6 separate regions of the Homo sapiens genome follow, and regions 2, 3, 4, 5 and 6 are each linked to region 1. The links are contacts of gene promoters, found by promoter capture Hi-C in blood cells and fetal thymus (Javierre and others, 2016). All regions are on one chromosome and are shown on one strand. Each heading gives the region's core, a stretch centred on a gene start or on the middle of the fragment in contact. The rest is flanking DNA. Distances are from core to core; before and after follow the strand shown.

Region 1 (2,700 bases), core at 125-2,624:
TGAAACTGACGGAAGACATATTGAGTATTTATTTGGGGAAGGCAAGAACATCCTACAAAGCAAGTGTCAAATTCTGCATAATTGAAAGGGTTCTGAAATGCACGACTCCAGTGTGGAATATGGGCAGCTTAGGAGCAAGAGCCCCACAGCTGTTGTTGTGGTCTGCTACCCTTCCATGGGATGCAGTGCCCACAATAGCAAGGTGCAGTTGCACATCGGTGCTATGCTGTAAGGGCCCCACTGCTCCCCTCCAGTATCTTAGGATAATGCCTCAGAACTGGGAATCCCAGTGTGATGCTGGGTCCCAGGAATGTGCTATGGCCTCAAAGGACTGCCTGAGTGAGTTCCAGGTTCAGACTTCCCATTTTACCAACACCAAGTGTCTCAAGCTAGTCTTTAGGCCCCCTGGGAAGCCAGATGCTATCCAGGTATTCATAAGAATTATCCTGATTGATGCAAGTTGACCCTCTAGGGAAATCTAAAGGTCCCCAGGATGTACTTGGAGTTGCAGGACATCTGGGAGCCCACACATGTCTTTAGGTGTATGGAGACTATGCGGTCACCTGATTTGAAGGACAAGAAGGTCCTTATCCCTTCCCAACAGCACCTCTCTCCATTATTAGGTGGCTAAATGCCTAAAATTCCATCACTAACATGTCACTCTTTTAGGTCAGCATCACTATATCTGGTTGCCTCTTTTGTAAAACGAACCCCTACCCCACCAATTGCTCAGTACATTCAGTCATTAGCATATTATGAATTAGTTCACCAACTATTTTCTCCAGATGGGCTTGACCTGGCTTGAGTCACAAGAGGGGAAAGAGGACAAAGACATCTATAGGGGAAACAAGACAAAGGACACAGGACACAGGAACAGAGGACGAAGACATCTATAGGGGAAACAGATCTTGAATATAAATCCTGCCAACTTCAGTTTTTCTAGGGCTCAGGCAGTATGACCACAGGCCATCCATGTGCCTAGACCATGCTCATCCATGAGCCCATCCACGTGCCTAGACTCATGAATCATGCAGTGGGATTCCAGTACCCATGGCACTGAGGAAGGGTACTGCCACAAAGTTGTGGCAGTTCTCCAGCTGTAGAAGGTAGGCAATAAAAAAGCATTTCCTTTATGCTGGTCCTTTGTTTCCTTTTCCCCATGGGCCTTATAAATAGTTAATCTACCTAAGCTGGAAGGAGAAGCTTTCTGCCTCCAGTAAAGTTTGATTCCTGGAGGCAGATTTTTTTTTTAAATCCAGCAAGTGTCAGATAATTGGAAGGGTGGAGTAACGCTGTAAACCATGACACACCTTTGTCAGGACATGTTTGGAAGCAAAGAGTTGAAAGAAACAAGGTGGAGAGAAAGAAAAGTGAACATTTTTGAAAGATCACTCAGCTTTAACACACCTTGGCTGGGTCTGGATAAAAAAAAAGTGAGCACTGCAAATTTCTAGAAGAAAACATCAGGAGAAGAAAGAGAGAGGGGGATTTATTCAAAGTTGTTTCCAATTCCTTCAAAACCTCAAACCAGGTAAGTAAACAGGAAGACTGACCTTTCTCCTTTTCTCTGAGACTTTGATTTAAGGTTTGCCATTTAGAAATTAAATGTTTATTGGAGAAAAGAAGATGAAGTTCTGTAGTTTCTAGCATTCTGGTTAAAGTGATCAATTGGTTATAAAAGATGACTTTGGTGTATGCATTCTGCTTAGGGTAGGTCTTTCAAAGGAAATAAGTGGGGAAAAGGAGAAGGCTGAAGGCTGGTTAAAATATAGCGGGCTTTAGAGGCAAGACCTTTCTGCATTGTTTTCAGCATTGTAAAATGACTTGTGTTGTTTTATTTAGAATATGATACGGGCTTATAATTCCTTCTCTCCCAATCTCAGTTTCCTCTCTCGCTATCTTGCTCTCCTCTTCCCTCTGTCTCTCTCTCCACTGGACGAAGAGAACAACTCAGGGGTGAAGTTAAAGTATAGGTAAGGGGGCCTTCTAGAAACAGTCCCTGTGCTGACTGGGCCTCTCTGATTAAGCCATACATGGTAAACATTGCTGTTTACCATGCTGTAAAATTACCTCTAATCTAAAGAAAAGTAGGATCTTTGAAATGATCTGATTAATTCAGAAATTTTGCAGGATCAAACTTAGAGGAATAAAAAAAGGAAGAAAATTGTTTCCCGTATATATACTCTTACGAGTCAACTTGGGTTTCCTCCTGCCAAAAAAATTCACTTTGAGATGAGAATTACCAGTTTAGATACCTAAGTGGATGACGTTAACTGGTAACTGACAAATTATCACTTTACTTTTTGAAGTGGAGGCAAAACCTCTGGCACATTCCTTCTTTTGAGAAGTAGTTAATCAGTAGTCTAATAGTGGACTTGTAAAACGTAGCAAGATTTTTAAAAGGTATTTATTTGAAAAGCAGAATAGTTTCTTCTTACCTCCATATGTTCTCTCTTAGAGCTAAGGCACAGATCTGTCAGAACTAACCTAAGACAGATGTCTATCCCCACACAGACTCACTCCAGAGATTCAGAGGTGTCCTGCTTTACTCTTAGGCCCTGCAAAACACCCACATGAGTCTGATCAGAGTTTACACAGGAACAATTAAAGTGAACAGCTCTGCTTCAAGCTTGCATAGAAACTTACCAGCCTGGGTAACATGGCAAAACCCTGACTCTACAAAAAATACAAAATTAGCCA
Region 2 (2,700 bases), core at 81-2,580, 180 kb after region 1:
GGAGTTTCAGCAATTCATTTTTACCATGCCCATTATTACATAAGTCAAGGTGTCTTAGCCTAATTGCAAGTCAGGTCTGAATCCCCTTGTCCCAGCCATATCACTTGACCAAAGAACATTTTGAAGACTGTTTCTCTCACATGGTTGCCACTAACTTCTGTGCTGCCATGGTCCAGATTTTCTAAAATCTCTGTGTTCAAACAAATAATACCAGGAATTCTAAGACTGAGAAGGTAAGATAGGATTCCTTTGGAAATTATCCATTAAGTAATATAAATTAAAAGAACTTTAAAATTGTATAGTGAATACATTGACTATAACTGAAACAACATTTGGAGTTGCTTGAATATATTTTAATAATTTTTAGATACTTTTTTTTTTTTTTAAAGTTAGGTTCTCACTATGTTTCCAGGGCTGGTCTCAAACTCCTGGACACAAGTGATCCTCCTGCCTCAGCCTCCCAAAGTGTTAGGATTACAGGCTTGAGCCACCACACCCGGCCTAATTTTTAGATATTTTTTAATTTAAGTTCATAATATGAAAGAATATCGTGCAATATTGGTGATGGTTTTTGGTTCTAGAGAAGCTTTGAAAACTGGAACCTTGTTTTTCCTGTGTTTTACAACATATACAGTATAGTGCCATACACAGTGGGGTTATTCAGTAAACACTGCCTGCTCTAATATCTAACATCTAGTATCTATCTACTTGCATTATGTATGGTAAGAATATCTAGTGCTTAGAGTCGTTTCTTCTTTTTTGCCATTACGTGTCAGAATCTCAACTTTGTACTTTGACTATACCGATCAATGGAATGCTCATTTGCTTAATTTTCTGATGTATTTACATTTAGAATTTGGCCATCAGTTTCATGTAACTTTGGAATTCTAATTCCTAATTTGGGAACATCTAAATCAATGGCATTGCTTTGGTGAGGAAGGTTTGTAGATAGATTTAAGGGAGACAACGTGTTTTTAGGCAGATACCTCATAGGCAAGAAATAAACCTATGAGACAATCAGGTATCTGGATTTTTATGTATGTCTGAGGTGTTTTTCTTAATCTGTTTTGTGCTGCTGTTACAGAATACCTAAGACTGGGTAATTTTATAAAGAAAGAAATTTATTTCTCATAGTTCTGGAGGCCAGAAATTCCAAGATCAAAGTTTTGGTGTCTGGTGAGGTCCGGGTTTCCCCTCCAAGATGGCACCTTGAATGCTTCATCCTCCAGAGGGGAGGAGAACTGTTCCTCACATGGCAGAAGAGCGTGAGAATGAGAACCACTTCTGCAAACCCATTTTATAGTGGCCTTAATTCATTCATGAGAGTGGAGCTCTCATAACCTAAACACCTCCCATTAGACCCCATCTTCTAACACTGTTGCATTGGGGGTTAAATTTCTAACACATGAGATTTTGAGGGGACAAAAACATTGAAACTTGTTTTTGTCAAACTGTAGCAGTATTAAAATCATTTGCAGATTTTTGGTTGTTGTCACAATCTTCAGTCAGAAGGTGTAGTTTGAATATGCGTACTTGTTCTAGATGGGGAGTCAGCAAAGTTTTTCTGTAAAGGGCCATATTTTCTGTTTGTGCACCCTATGGTCTGTGTGTCTCAACTATTCAACGCTGCCATTATAACAGAAAGTAACCATAGGTAGTACATAAGCAAATGGGCATGGCTGTGTTCCAATAAAACTTTATTTTAAAAAACAGGCTGTGGATGGATTTGGTCCATGGGCTATAGTTTGCAGACCCCTGTTTTAGTCATTGTTTCAGTTTTCAAAATTAACTCTTTTTAAAGAAATAGCATCATCAGGAATATATAATTCTTATACTTCGTAATTTTTTAGATCAACAAAATGGGTATTAATACTGAGAGTCAGATTTTTAAAATATCAATAAGTAGATGAATGGATGAACAATCACAGTAGGTAGCCTTAAGATTGCTTTGCAAATATAACGAGAAGGTAAGAGTAGAAGGAGAAAACCTAAAAATGATTCTCATCGTCTTTAAATTGTTCCCAACTAGCCCATTCTCTCCTTTTAATTTAATTGCCCTTAGTTTAAAAGCTTTCCATTGGAAGGTGGCCAGCAAAGACTAATTTTTTAAACAAAATTTAGTCTGAGTCAAAATCATGTTCCACTCAGTTAAAGTAAAAGAATATAATATTAGCTTTCATAAATGTCACATTGAATGTACCATTTGGACTTAGCTTATGAGCAAAGTTAAGATTTCCTGGCCCTGAGTATTCGAATGTTAAAGGGGATTTATCTTTCATGATGGAATAGACACTGAAAGTGAAGTTCTGTCAGGCTCCAGTCTTCTCATTATATTCATTTAATTACACAGCTTGAGCCTCCTTTTGGCAACTTGGCTCACCCTTTAAGTGAAAGGTGGGCCTCTTTTTCTCAGACCAACCATCAGTCTGATCATTTCAGTGGTGCTATGTGAAGCATTTATTATCACCTATAATGTCTGCATAATGACAATGAGATTTATAAATACCTTTAAAATTCAGCCTAAGTAGAAGAGGGCCTGGGGATAGGAACTGCTACTTTTGAAAAAGTAGCAGTTGGGGATTTTTTGAAGAAACCCAGTAAGCTCTGAGCAGCGGTAATGCTGATTGCGTCCAGGTTCCTACCTGGACTCACTGAATGCACAGAGTTCTCTGTGCTCCCTATGTTGCTGTTTCCCTGGGT
Region 3 (2,700 bases), core at 126-2,625, 240 kb after region 1:
AGCTAAAAAGAGTAGATCTCACAGAGGTAGTGAAGAGTAGAATGGCGGCTACCAGAGGCCAGGTGGGAGGAATAAAGAGAGGTTGATTAATGAATACAAAAATACAGTTGGGTAGAAATAATACGTTTTAGTATTTGATAGTACAGTAAGGAAATTGTAGTTAACAATAATCTATTGCATATTTTACAGTAACTAGAAGAACTGGAATGTTCCCAGTACAAATAAAAGATAAGTGTTTGAGGTGATGGATATCCCCATGACCCCGATTTGATTATTACACATTGTATACAGGTATCAAATTATCACAGGTACCCCCAAAATTTGTATAACTATTATATATCATTTAAAAATAAGAATACAATAACAAAATAGGTCAAAAACATAGTGTATGAGATGGGGGTTGAATGGCGTAGGGAAAACTAAAGCCAGGTGAGGGAGACAGGCATGTTGGTGATGGTGGGAGTTGCTGTGCTTTTTTTTTTTTTTTTTTTGAGACGGAGTCTCGCTCTGTCGCCCAGGCTGCAGTGTAGTGGTGCGATCTCGGCTCACTGCAAGCTCCACCTCCCGGGTTCACGCCATTCTCCTGCCTCAGCCTCCCGAGTAGCTGGGACTACAGGCACCCGCCACCACACCCAGCTAATTTTTTTGTATTTTTAGTGGAGACAGGATTTCACCATGTTGGCCAGGATGGTCTTGATCTCCTGACCTCGTGATCCACCCGTCTCGGCCTCCCAGAGTGCTGGGATTACAGGCGTGAGCCACTGCACCCGGCCTTGCTGTGCTATTTTATAGAGGGTGGCCAAGGACAGCCCCACTGTAGAGGTGGCTTTTGAGTAAGACTTGAGGGAGGTGAGGAAGTGAGCCCTGTGGCTATCTGGGGGAAAGTGGTTGAGGGAGAGGGAACAACAGGTGCCAAGGCCCCGAGGTGGCTGGTGTGGCCTGAGTGGAGTGAGAGAGGGGAGAGCAGCAGGTCATGGGGTCAGATAGGGAAAAGGGTCACGTTGAGCCTTGTATCCCTCCCCACCCTGCACAGCATGCTCTGCTCAGCAGTGAGGCCTCATGATGACCTAATGGAGACTGAAACTGGCCAAAACACTGCCAGAGAGGTGGCTTCAAGGACTGCTTGGGGTTTGACCCTGACCCCCTTTAAAAGAGACCTCCTGGGGAAACACAGTCTCCATCAGCAGCGTCATGGGTAGGAACTCCAGGGCCCCAAAGGCAGGGTACACACCAGGAAGCTTCACTGGCTGAACATTATTTTTGTGCCTACTGTGTGCAAGGTGCTGTGTTGAAAGCAGTGCTCCAGCTGGGAGCCAGGAGGCAGGTAGGGGCGTGAATTCCTGCAAAAGCAGCGACCACATCCTTTCATCTTTAACGCCCCCTCCTCATGCTAGCAGAGGGTCTGGATCATGGTGCGTCCTGGATCAGTGTGATAAATCCCTGGACAAAGGCTTCATTCTACTAAAGCCCCTTCCCCTCCGACCTCATACTCCTATTTTTACTGAAGCTTCTAACTTACAGTTGCTGAAGTTAGTTGTTAGAAACTCAAAACACATGTTCCTATCAGTATTGTATCGTAAATGGTGTTAAGATTCTCAAGTCAGCCCACCAAAACTTTTCTCATCCTCAGAGTAGATTTGTATCCCTGACAACCAGATATCTCTAGTTCACCTACAGCATAGGCTAACCTGGGAGCCTAAATGCTGTGTGTAACATCCAGGGAAACTGTCTTCCATTGTTCACAGTGAGAAGGAAACCCTAAGGCTACATAACAATAACAACCGTAACAACAGCAGCATGAACGATGTGCCCGCCACTAAGCACATCACTCATTTAATCCTTGCAACAGACTATGAGAAAAGCACTATTATGGTCCTTCCATTACTCAGAGAGAACAGAGGCAGAGAGAGATGCATGAGATGCATTTACCAATGGTCACAAGCTAGGAAGGGGCAGAGCCGGGTTCAGAGCCAGGCAGCGGGACTCCAGAGTCCTTCGCGAAACCTCTTGTTTCCTGGCCTTCCGGGAATCCCGCCAGCCAGCCTTGCTGCAGCCCAGGGTGGCTGTCTGTAGACCTTACGTTCAGGACACTTGTCATTAGGTGTTAACAAGTGTCAGGGTGAGGGAACAAAAGCCACGGGTGGCCAGTATGAGCAGTTTCTCTTTCTTCTCCCAGACAGGAAAAACCATTTGTTTCTGGAACCTGACACTGCAGGGGGTGGGCTTGGTGTATGTGGCCGCCTTCCTGGGCCATTTACAAGTGCAGCACATGGGTCTGGGGAGGGGGCTGGGCCGGGGTGGCGATGTGTTTATTGGTGGAAGCTAGATTAGGGTGTCTGGCAAGATGTTTTTGACACCTAGACCATTCCACTCAGTGAAACCCAACAGGTGGCCAGGCTGTTGCTTTAGCTGGAAGCGGGGCAACCTCCCCGCCCTGCCCTGTTCAGTTTATTGTTGGAATGAGATGGGTCCTAACCAGTCCTTCCTCTCTTCCCTGGCCCCAAAATAAACAGCAGCTGTTGTTGGCGCCATCATTTCTGCCTCTGCCAGTCTGTCAGCAGCGCTGGGCTCTTGCCTGGCCTTGCCCTTTTTGATTTGATGGCACTGGGCGTTGGGAGCCCTTTACCTTTGCCCTACGGAGCCTGCCCTGCTGACCAGCTGGTGTGCCCTAACATGCCCTCTCCCAGGCCTGGTGGCTGC
Region 4 (2,700 bases), core at 110-2,609, 160 kb before region 1:
CATTGCACTCCAGCCTGGGCAACAGAGTGAGTGAGACTTTGTCTCAAAAAAAAAAAAAAAAAAGAAGAAGCTTGAATAGAAAAAAAATTGAGGGGATATTAAAAGTCCATTGAAAGAAGAATGGATAAATTGTGTTGTATTCATATAATGGACATCTACCCAACAATGAAAACAAATAGTCTACAGCTATAGTTATCAACTTAAATCCCTCTCAAAAACATGATATTGAGCCAGAATAGCAAGTCACAATAATATATATGGTATGATTCTACATGTGTTAACTTTAAAAACAGGCAAAGTGAAACAGCACATTAGTTATGGCTCATGCATACATGGTAGAATTGAAAAGCAGGGAACAATAATCACAGAATTCAGGATGGTAGCTACATCCAGGGGAAAGGAAGGGAATGGAAAAGGGTGGGTGCATGATGTAGGGAGGTGCTTCCAGGGTATTGGTTCCCTTCTGTTTCTTCAGTTGGAAGGTGGCTTCTAGAGAATGGCATTGAGATGGGAAAGGATCAGGTGGGGAGAAATGAGGTGGCGACTGCTGTCATTTGAAAAGCTTTCTATTCACTTTGATTTTTTACTCTTAATATACGCTATATTGGGAAAAATTAAGATTTAAGAAACATTTTTTAAAGAACAGGAAAAAAAAAACCTACTGTTAAAAGACAACTGTTAAAAGTAATGAAGTAGATTCATATATACTGATGCAGAAACATGCCAGAGATACACTGTTAAATAAAAATGTTGTAAAACAGCATGCAGGAGGTAATCTCATCTGTTGAATGTACATGTCCTGCCAGTTATCTCCTAAATGTTCTACCTGGAAAGTCTTTAATCCTCACAACAATCCTAAGATTTAAATACTGTTAATATTACCATCTCAGGGATAGGGAAACTGGGGGGCACAGGTTAAGTGATTTTCTCAAAATCAATATATTTTTTATGGTGGAGATGGGTTGTCAACTCTGGTCTTGTGTCTGGAATTTATTCCTTCCGGTGGGTTCTTGGTCTCGCTGACTTCAAGAATGAAGCTGCGGACCCTCGCAGTGAGTGTTACAGTTCTTAAAGATCGTGTGTCCAGAGTTTGTTCCTTCAGATGTTCAGATGTGTCCGGAGTTTCTTCCTTCTGGTGGGTTCATGGTCTCGCTGACTTCAGGAGTGAAGCTGCAGACCTTTGCAGTGAGTCTTATAGCTCTTAAAGGTGCTGCGTCCAGAGTTGTTTGTTCCTCCCGGGGGTTTACGGTCTCACTGACTTCAGGAATGAAGCTGCAGACCCTCACAGTGAGTGTTACAGCTCATAAACCTAGTGCAGACCCAAAGAGTGAGCAGCAGTAAGATTTATTGTGAAGAGCAAAAGAACAAAGCTCCCACAGCCCGGAAGGGGACTCCAGCCTGTTGCCCCTGCTGGCTCCGGTGGCCAGCTTTTATTCCCTTATTTGGCCCCGCCCATGTCGTGCTGTTTGGTCCATTTTACGGAGTGCTGATTGGTCCGTTTTTAACAGAGTGCTGATTGGTGCGTTTACAAACCTTTAGTTAGACACAGAGCGCTGATTGGTGCATTTTTACAGAGTGCTCATTGGTGTGTTTACAAACCTTTAGCTAGACACAGAGTGCTGATTTGCGTGTTTACAACCATTTAGCTAGACAGAAAAGTACTCCAAGTCCCTACCCGATCCAGAAGCCCAGCTGGCTTCACCCATCAGTCTGACACCTAAGTCTGATCGAGAGATCAGGTAGCAGTTAAGACTGCTACCATATCTCATGGATTCTAAGATTCACATTTCTTCATGTTTAAATACCTCTAAAAATGGAAGTGTATCTAAAATTACAGCAGGCTGTGTAGCAGTTTTGACACTGATGTTATTGCTCTTGCTTGGACTTGCAGGGTAGCTGTCAATGGCTTTGGAAGAAAATCCCAGAGATAACAGAACATTCTTGCTGCATTATGGAATTAAATGATCTTCTTGGCACAGAGGACAATGCTATGGGATGAATGAGTTGGGGAAATGAATGCCTATGATGCTGATTTTAAAAATTATTCAAAAGAGCTGGATTCTAAAAGTTGAATGAATACTTTATATAACTTATATTTTCCTTTTTATACTTGCACAAGAGTAAAATAGAATAAAAATCATTTCTAAATAAGCTTAAGAGTTCTTTTATCATAAAAATCTGGGCTTAAAAGAGCTCTTTCAATAAGCGTTAAATAAAAATTTTAGGATTCTGTTGTAATTTAATTGGTTATTTATTTAATTATTCCCTCCTTGTCAGTTGATCTTAGAGCTGACTAAATACAGTTTGTCTCCCTCACAGTCCCCCTAAAGTACTTACTGACATTTTTAAAGAAAAAAATGTATTTTATTTAATGTCCAATAAAAAATACATACACACACACACACCCCTAAAACAGAATTTACACTTACCATTGGGATGCACTGTGAAGTTTTTTTGTTCCGTTCATTTTAAAGACATGTTGGTTACAACTTAGTAAGCAGATCTTACCAACCACTAATACGTTCCAACTCAGAACTGCTCTAGAGCACAAATGTGTGTTATAAATGCTAATTAACAATTTAAGGGAAATTTATAGCCTTCCTTCTGAGAATTAGCTCACAATAGTATTCTATGAACTCAGAAAAAAAATTTAAAAAACTAACATAGTCTTGTTACCATGTATCCTGCCTAGACAGGGCA
Region 5 (2,700 bases), core at 174-2,673, 150 kb before region 1:
TTTTTCTATTTTTTCCAAGTGACTAGCACATGCATGAATGCATGCGGGATGCTCTGTAAATATTTGTGAAAGAAATGGAGAGAAGAAAGCAAGACAGGAAGGAAAGACCTAAAGAAAGGAAGGGAAGGGTAGAGAAGGGAAGACGACTGAAGGGAAAGGAAGAAGGGTAAGGGAGGGAGTCTAAGGGAAGGTATGGGAGAGAAGAAGGAATGACAAGCTGCCGACCATTCAATCAGGTTACTTCCAGAGCTGTCTGCTTCCCTGAGGAAGCAAGAGGGTACATTTCAAAGTGTTATATGGTACTTAAGGGCTTGGAGCTCTAAATTAGCTAGACCTGCGTTTAAGTCCCACTCAGGGCTGGGCAAGGTGGCTCACGCCTGTAATCGCAGCACTCTGGGAGGCCAAGGCGGGCGAATCACTTGAGGTCAAGAATTTGAAACCAGCCTGGTCATCATGGTGAAAACCCGTCTCTACTAAAAATACAAAAAATTAGCTGGGCATGGTAGCACGTGCCTGTAATCTCAGCTACTTGGGAGGCTGAGGCAGGAGAATCGCTTGAACCCAGGAGATGGAGGTTGCAGTGAGCCAAGATCAAGCCACTGCCCTCCAGCCTGGGCAACGGAGTGAGACCCTATCTCAAAAATAAATAAATAAATAATATAAATAAATAAAGTCCCACTCAACTTTGTAGCCATGGACAAATTATGTGCTTCTCTTTTCCTCACGTTACTTATCTGTAAAATGGGGCTGATGGGAGATGTGAAGACGTTGCAACAATGTTTGGCACAGTCAGCACTCTAAATGAAAGTCTGTTTAGAAATTTATTGATTTTTAAAAATAATTATTTATTTAGAGACAGGTCTCGCTCTGTCGCCCAGGCTGGAGTGCTGTGGCGTCATCCCAGCTCACCGCAGCCTTGAACTCCTGGGCTCAAGCGATCCTCCCACTTCAGTCTCCCAAGTAGCTGGGACTACAGGCGTGCACCACCATGCCCGGCTGCTTTTTAAATTTTTTTGTAGAGATGCGGCACGGGCGCGGCAGGTTTCGCTATGTCTTCCAGGCTGGTCTTCAACTCCTAGCCTCAAGCGATCCTCCCGCTCTGACCTTCGAAAGCGCGGAGATTGTAGGCATGAGTCTTACTTGCAATTATTGGCCCGGACCTGGGGAAATTTGTTAAAATGCAGATTCTGATTGAGTAGATCTGGTGTGGGAGCCAAGTTTCTGCATTTATAACAAGCTTCCCAGGTAGCACCAATGTTGCTGGTAAACAGACCACACTTTGAACAGCAAGGGGCCCGCCCCTCGCTTGGCTTGCCGCTCACCCATTGGCCGAGAGCGGCAGACCTTCCACCAATCTGCTCGGCTCAGAAGGGAGCGGGCCAAAGCGCAGAGCCAATGGGCGCGGGGCTTACGGTCTCCGGGATACGGGTGTACACAGCAGCGGCGTCGCGGCCCGCAGCCCCGCGGCGGCGGAAAGGTAACCGACCCGCCCTGGGGTGCTGCGTGCGCTGCCTGCTCCCGCCTGAGGAAAACACTGCCCATGGCGCAAGGCCGGGAGCGCGACGAAGGCCCCCACTCCGCCGGCGGCGCGTCCTTGTCCGTGAGGTGCGGTGTTCACGGCCCCGCGACCGATCTGGGTCTCGCGGAACCTCCTGCCCCAAGTCCCCTCCTCCCTCCTCTCCCTCCGGTTCCTTAGGGCGGCTTTCCCCGCAGCTTCGACCTCTTCCCCTCTGCCCCCAGTGCCTTCCCTCAGCCTCCCTCCCCGTGTGACCTCCCCTGTCCGCTCCCCATCCCCTTGTTCCTTGACCCCGTCCCCAGTTGTCTTTCCCACTCCTTATTCTGCGACCCTGACCCTCCGTCTCTTACCCAGCAACGTCCCCTGCACCCTTCATCTCTTCCTTCTAGCTCAGGATTCCCGCTAGTGATCCGGGTCTTCTGATCACATCCCCCTCCCCCTCCACCTGGCGACAGCCCGGATCCCGTCCTTGCTACCTTTGGTGATTTTCCCCAAAGTTAGGTCCCTGAATCCTTTCCTTCTAACTCCTATCCACTAGCTTTGGATTTATTTGCATTTATAGTAGCCTTTGAAAAGCATCAAGCACTGCGCAGATATAGGTGGCATTTTTTCCCCTACATTCTAGAGTGTTCCTCCCAGCCCCCACCTCCACTCTATACAGCATCCCCTGCTAGTCCTGGACACTCTAATGTCTCGAGGTTTCTCACCAAACCAGTGTCCTTCACTTGCCTTTTCCACCATCTTCAAGCATACCTTTAATATTTAAATAAAAATAGAATCTCCTTCATCTCCTCTCCTTTCTAGCATACACCTAGCACGCACTCCTTACTTGAGAGTATGTTCTTTTTGTGTGCTAGCCTTTCATTCACGTCGACTTCATTCCTTTTATTTTCTACGTTTATCTGTATTTTTAAATCTAAAATATGGCCACATACTCTTCATCTGTGTAAATAAGCAATTTTCCTACTCTGCTAACAACCACAAAGCAGGCTGTCCTATGCAAAGTTGTTTTTTAAAGTTTATTTAAAAAAATCAAACTAATTATAAAAGAATGGCCCAGGATGCCACTGTGTTGAGATCAAGCTCTTTTCTCTGTTATTTTCACTTTTTGTCTTCCAAGTATAGAAGACCCCAGAAGTCCTTCTGAGACTTTCTCAGGTTTGGTCAGAGAGTTTCCTTTGCTG
Region 6 (2,700 bases), core at 62-2,561, 220 kb after region 1:
AGCAATTAAATATATGTGTCTTGCTGTGTTGCCCAGGCTGGAATGCAGCGGCTATTCACAAGCACTAACATAGCACACTATAGCCTTGAACTCTGGGGCTCAAGCAATCCTCCTACCCCAACCTCCCAAGTAGCCAGGGACTACAGATGTGTGCCACCATGCCCAGTACAACTAAAAACATTTTAAATTTATTTTTAAATGACAAAGAATGCAAACAACATCAAACCATATTTAATATAGTATTTGAACTAAAATGTGAATATCCAAATTTTGGTCTAACAGAGTAGAGTGATTTGTAGAAGGCTAACCCCTCCTACAGATCATAATTACAAACTCTGGACAAGGTGAAAATAAAAACCTGTTTGATGCCACTGGATGACGACCAGACTAAAGGAAGGGGACTTGTTCCTTGAAAGAAGGAAGACACTCCGGGTGAGGTCCACACTTGTATGACTTTCCCCTAAGGGCAGCCATTCTTGAACTTTAGTGTATATTAGAATCCCAGAGGAAGATAACAGAATCCAGTCTCTACAATATACCATTTACAATGTTCACTATATAAAAATTATTAGATATGTGAAGAAAGAGAGAAATGTGACCCATAATCAAGAGATATACTAGTCAATAGAAACAGACTCACAGACAACTCTGATGTCAGACTGGCAGAGAAGGGCTTTAAAATACCTTTGATAAATGTGTTAAAGAGTCTTTGGAAAAGATGCATATACTGGGTAAAGAGATGGGAAATTTAGAAGAGATCAGGAAACTGTAAAAAACTATATGGAAATCCTAGAACTGAAAAACATACTATCTGAAAAGTGAATCTCCTGCTTCACATCCTCACTCCCATTCCAACCTTCTGCCCTGGAGTTAAACACCTGTAGTAGTCTTTGGTTATAAATGATAAAGATCTTACTCCAGCTTATGCCAAGGTGGTAAGGTATAAGAGAGAATACCTAATGAAACAGTGGGGAGGGACAGAGTGGCACTGGTTTAGGGTCAATTGGCCCTAGGAATCCAAATGCTGGGAAGATGCTCTTGTTTCTCTCTCTTCCTGCCTCTGAGATTTGGCTGTATCCTCTCTCACTGTGAACATTATCCTCTGTGTTGTCAGAGAGATGGCTGGGGTCAGCTCTGGGCTGATAGCTTCACAGCTCTGAGAGGAAAGAGGTTCTCTTCCCACAGCACCGGTTAGAAAAGTCCCAAGGAGGGTGTCTGATTAGTCCAGTATGTGTTACAGGTGCGTGCCACCATGCCCAGCTAATTTTTGTATTTTTCGTAGAGACGGGATTTCACCATGTTGGCCAGGATGGTCTCGAACTCCTGACCTCATAATCTACCCGCCTTGGCCTCCCAAAGTGCTAGGATTACAGGCATGAGCCACCGTGCCTGGCCTATTTTATTTCATTTTTTGAAACAGGATCTCACTATATTGCCCAGGCTGGTCTCGAATTCCAGAACTCAAGCAATGCTGAGTAGCTGGAATTACAGGTGCTCACCACCATGCCAGCTTTTCGTGTTCATCTTAATACTTTTACCACAGATGTATGTATCCCTAAAATATGTATATTATGTATAGTATTGTTCTTTATGTTTAACATTTACATAAATGGTATACTGTCCATGTCTTTCTGCAACTTGCATTGTTTTTACTCACCAGAATCTAAGAGGTGATTGCTGATTTGTTTAGTTTTATTTCATTCATTCTTTTCTTTTTTATTGAGGTATCACATCTGTACATTGAATACACAACTCCAGTGCCCGACTCAAAACCTCCACCCAGATCAAGGTGGAGACCATTTCCAGCACCCCGTAGTCTCTGTGCCCCTCCTAGCTCATACCTCTCAGAGGCAACCACTGTCCTGACCTCCAGCACCATCAATTAATTTTGTCTGTCTTGAACTTTATATAAGTGGAATCACACATATGTACCCTTTGAGTGTGTCTTTTATTTTTGGTACAATATTGTGTCTGTGAGCCTCATCCAGTGTGTTGCATGAAGCAGTAGTTTTGTCTTTGTCATGGGTATATAGTGTTCTGTTGTGTGAATATAACATTTGTGATATTGTGAAATATATTTGGCCTTAGTCCTCTGTTCTTGACATAAAACTCCTAAAATATTTGGTATCTTCAAAGTGATGTGTCCTTTTGTATGCAAATGAGTTGACTGGTGGCTAGTAACTCTGGGTAGCTTCAGGATGGGGGCTGGTCACTGGAAAGACCAAGGCAGGATTAGAGGGTTGGGACTTTCATCCCACCCTTAACATCCAACAAGAGGAGAGGGTCCTCCATGCTGCTGGTCAGTGTCTACTGGGAGTCTTTCCTGCCCTCGGCCTAGGATGGGCCTCTGCTCTGTGTTCCTGAGGCTCCCTGTATTTCTTCTGGAGCACTACTCATCAGAACTGGACAAAGCCAGGTCAGTTCCCTGTGGTATCAATCCACAAGGCCTGCAAAAACATCACTGTGATAAATAAACTGGAAGTATGATAGCAGGTGGCTCGAGTTTCCACACATGTACCTCTATCTGTGTAACTGGTGAAATATACATCAGTGCTGCAGAAATTTGGGAGGAGATCAGGAGACACTCTCTTCTCCTTACAGAATCTAGAAGTAATTAATTGGCACTTTTTTTTCTTTTTCTTTTTCTTTTTTCTTTTTTTTTTTTTTGAGATGGAGTTTCGCTCTGTCGCCCACACTAGA

What was found. Contacts are between HindIII fragments. The CHiCAGO score rates a contact against its expected background, and 5 or more counts as called.
Region 2: a contact is called between a fragment that was not itself captured here and the fragment with the promoter of COL17A1 in region 1, in 6 of 17 cell types (naive CD4 T cells, activated CD4 T cells, naive B cells and 3 more). The highest score is 6.8, in naive CD4 T cells.
Region 3: a contact is called between a fragment that was not itself captured here and the fragment with the promoter of COL17A1 in region 1, in 2 of 17 cell types (naive CD8 T cells and total CD8 T cells). The highest score is 5.3, in naive CD8 T cells.
Region 4: a contact is called between a fragment that was not itself captured here and the fragment with the promoter of COL17A1 in region 1, in 1 of 17 cell types (endothelial precursors). The highest score is 5.6, in endothelial precursors.
Region 5: a contact is called between the fragment with the promoter of CFAP43 here and the fragment with the promoter of COL17A1 in region 1, in 10 of 17 cell types (endothelial precursors, activated CD4 T cells, M1 macrophages and 7 more). The highest score is 10.2, in endothelial precursors.
Region 6: a contact is called between a fragment that was not itself captured here and the fragment with the promoter of COL17A1 in region 1, in 8 of 17 cell types (total CD8 T cells, total CD4 T cells, fetal thymus and 5 more). The highest score is 8.4, in total CD8 T cells.

The regions. Positions count from the first base shown.
Region 1 is chr10:104,084,554-104,087,253 of GRCh38, reverse strand. COL17A1 (collagen type XVII alpha 1 chain) reads left to right here and starts at 1,374. Exons shown (of 56, transcript NM_000494.4): 1 at 1,374-1,531. The HindIII fragment of the contact is 1,426 bases long and covers 1,206-2,631 here.
Region 2 is chr10:103,902,136-103,904,835 of GRCh38, reverse strand. All of the region lies in intron 4 of STN1 (STN1 subunit of CST complex), which reads left to right. Among named protein-coding and RNA genes, the nearest start is that of STN1, 15 kb to the left of the region's middle. The HindIII fragment of the contact is 1,484 bases long and covers 589-2,072 here.
Region 3 is chr10:103,839,916-103,842,615 of GRCh38, reverse strand. All of the region lies in intron 1 of SH3PXD2A (SH3 and PX domains 2A), which reads left to right. Among named protein-coding and RNA genes, the nearest start is that of SH3PXD2A, 14 kb to the left of the region's middle. The HindIII fragment of the contact is 269 bases long and covers 1,241-1,509 here.
Region 4 is chr10:104,247,784-104,250,483 of GRCh38, reverse strand. LOC124902497 (a long non-coding RNA gene) reads left to right here. Exons shown (of 2, transcript XR_007062284.1): 2 at 1,892-2,151. Among named protein-coding and RNA genes, the nearest start is that of GSTO1, 5.8 kb to the left of the region's middle. The HindIII fragment of the contact is 1,590 bases long and covers 565-2,154 here.
Region 5 is chr10:104,231,087-104,233,786 of GRCh38, reverse strand. It overlaps CFAP43 (cilia and flagella associated protein 43), which reads left to right and starts at 1,423. Exons shown (of 38, transcript NM_025145.7): 1 at 1,423-1,605. The coding sequence starts at 1,541. RefSeq lists an enhancer at 1,302-1,596. The HindIII fragment of the contact is 2,497 bases long and covers 1,240-2,700 here.
Region 6 is chr10:103,863,347-103,866,046 of GRCh38, reverse strand. No RefSeq gene overlaps it. Among named protein-coding and RNA genes, the nearest start is that of SH3PXD2A, 9.1 kb to the right of the region's middle. The HindIII fragment of the contact is 3,925 bases long and covers 1-2,700 here.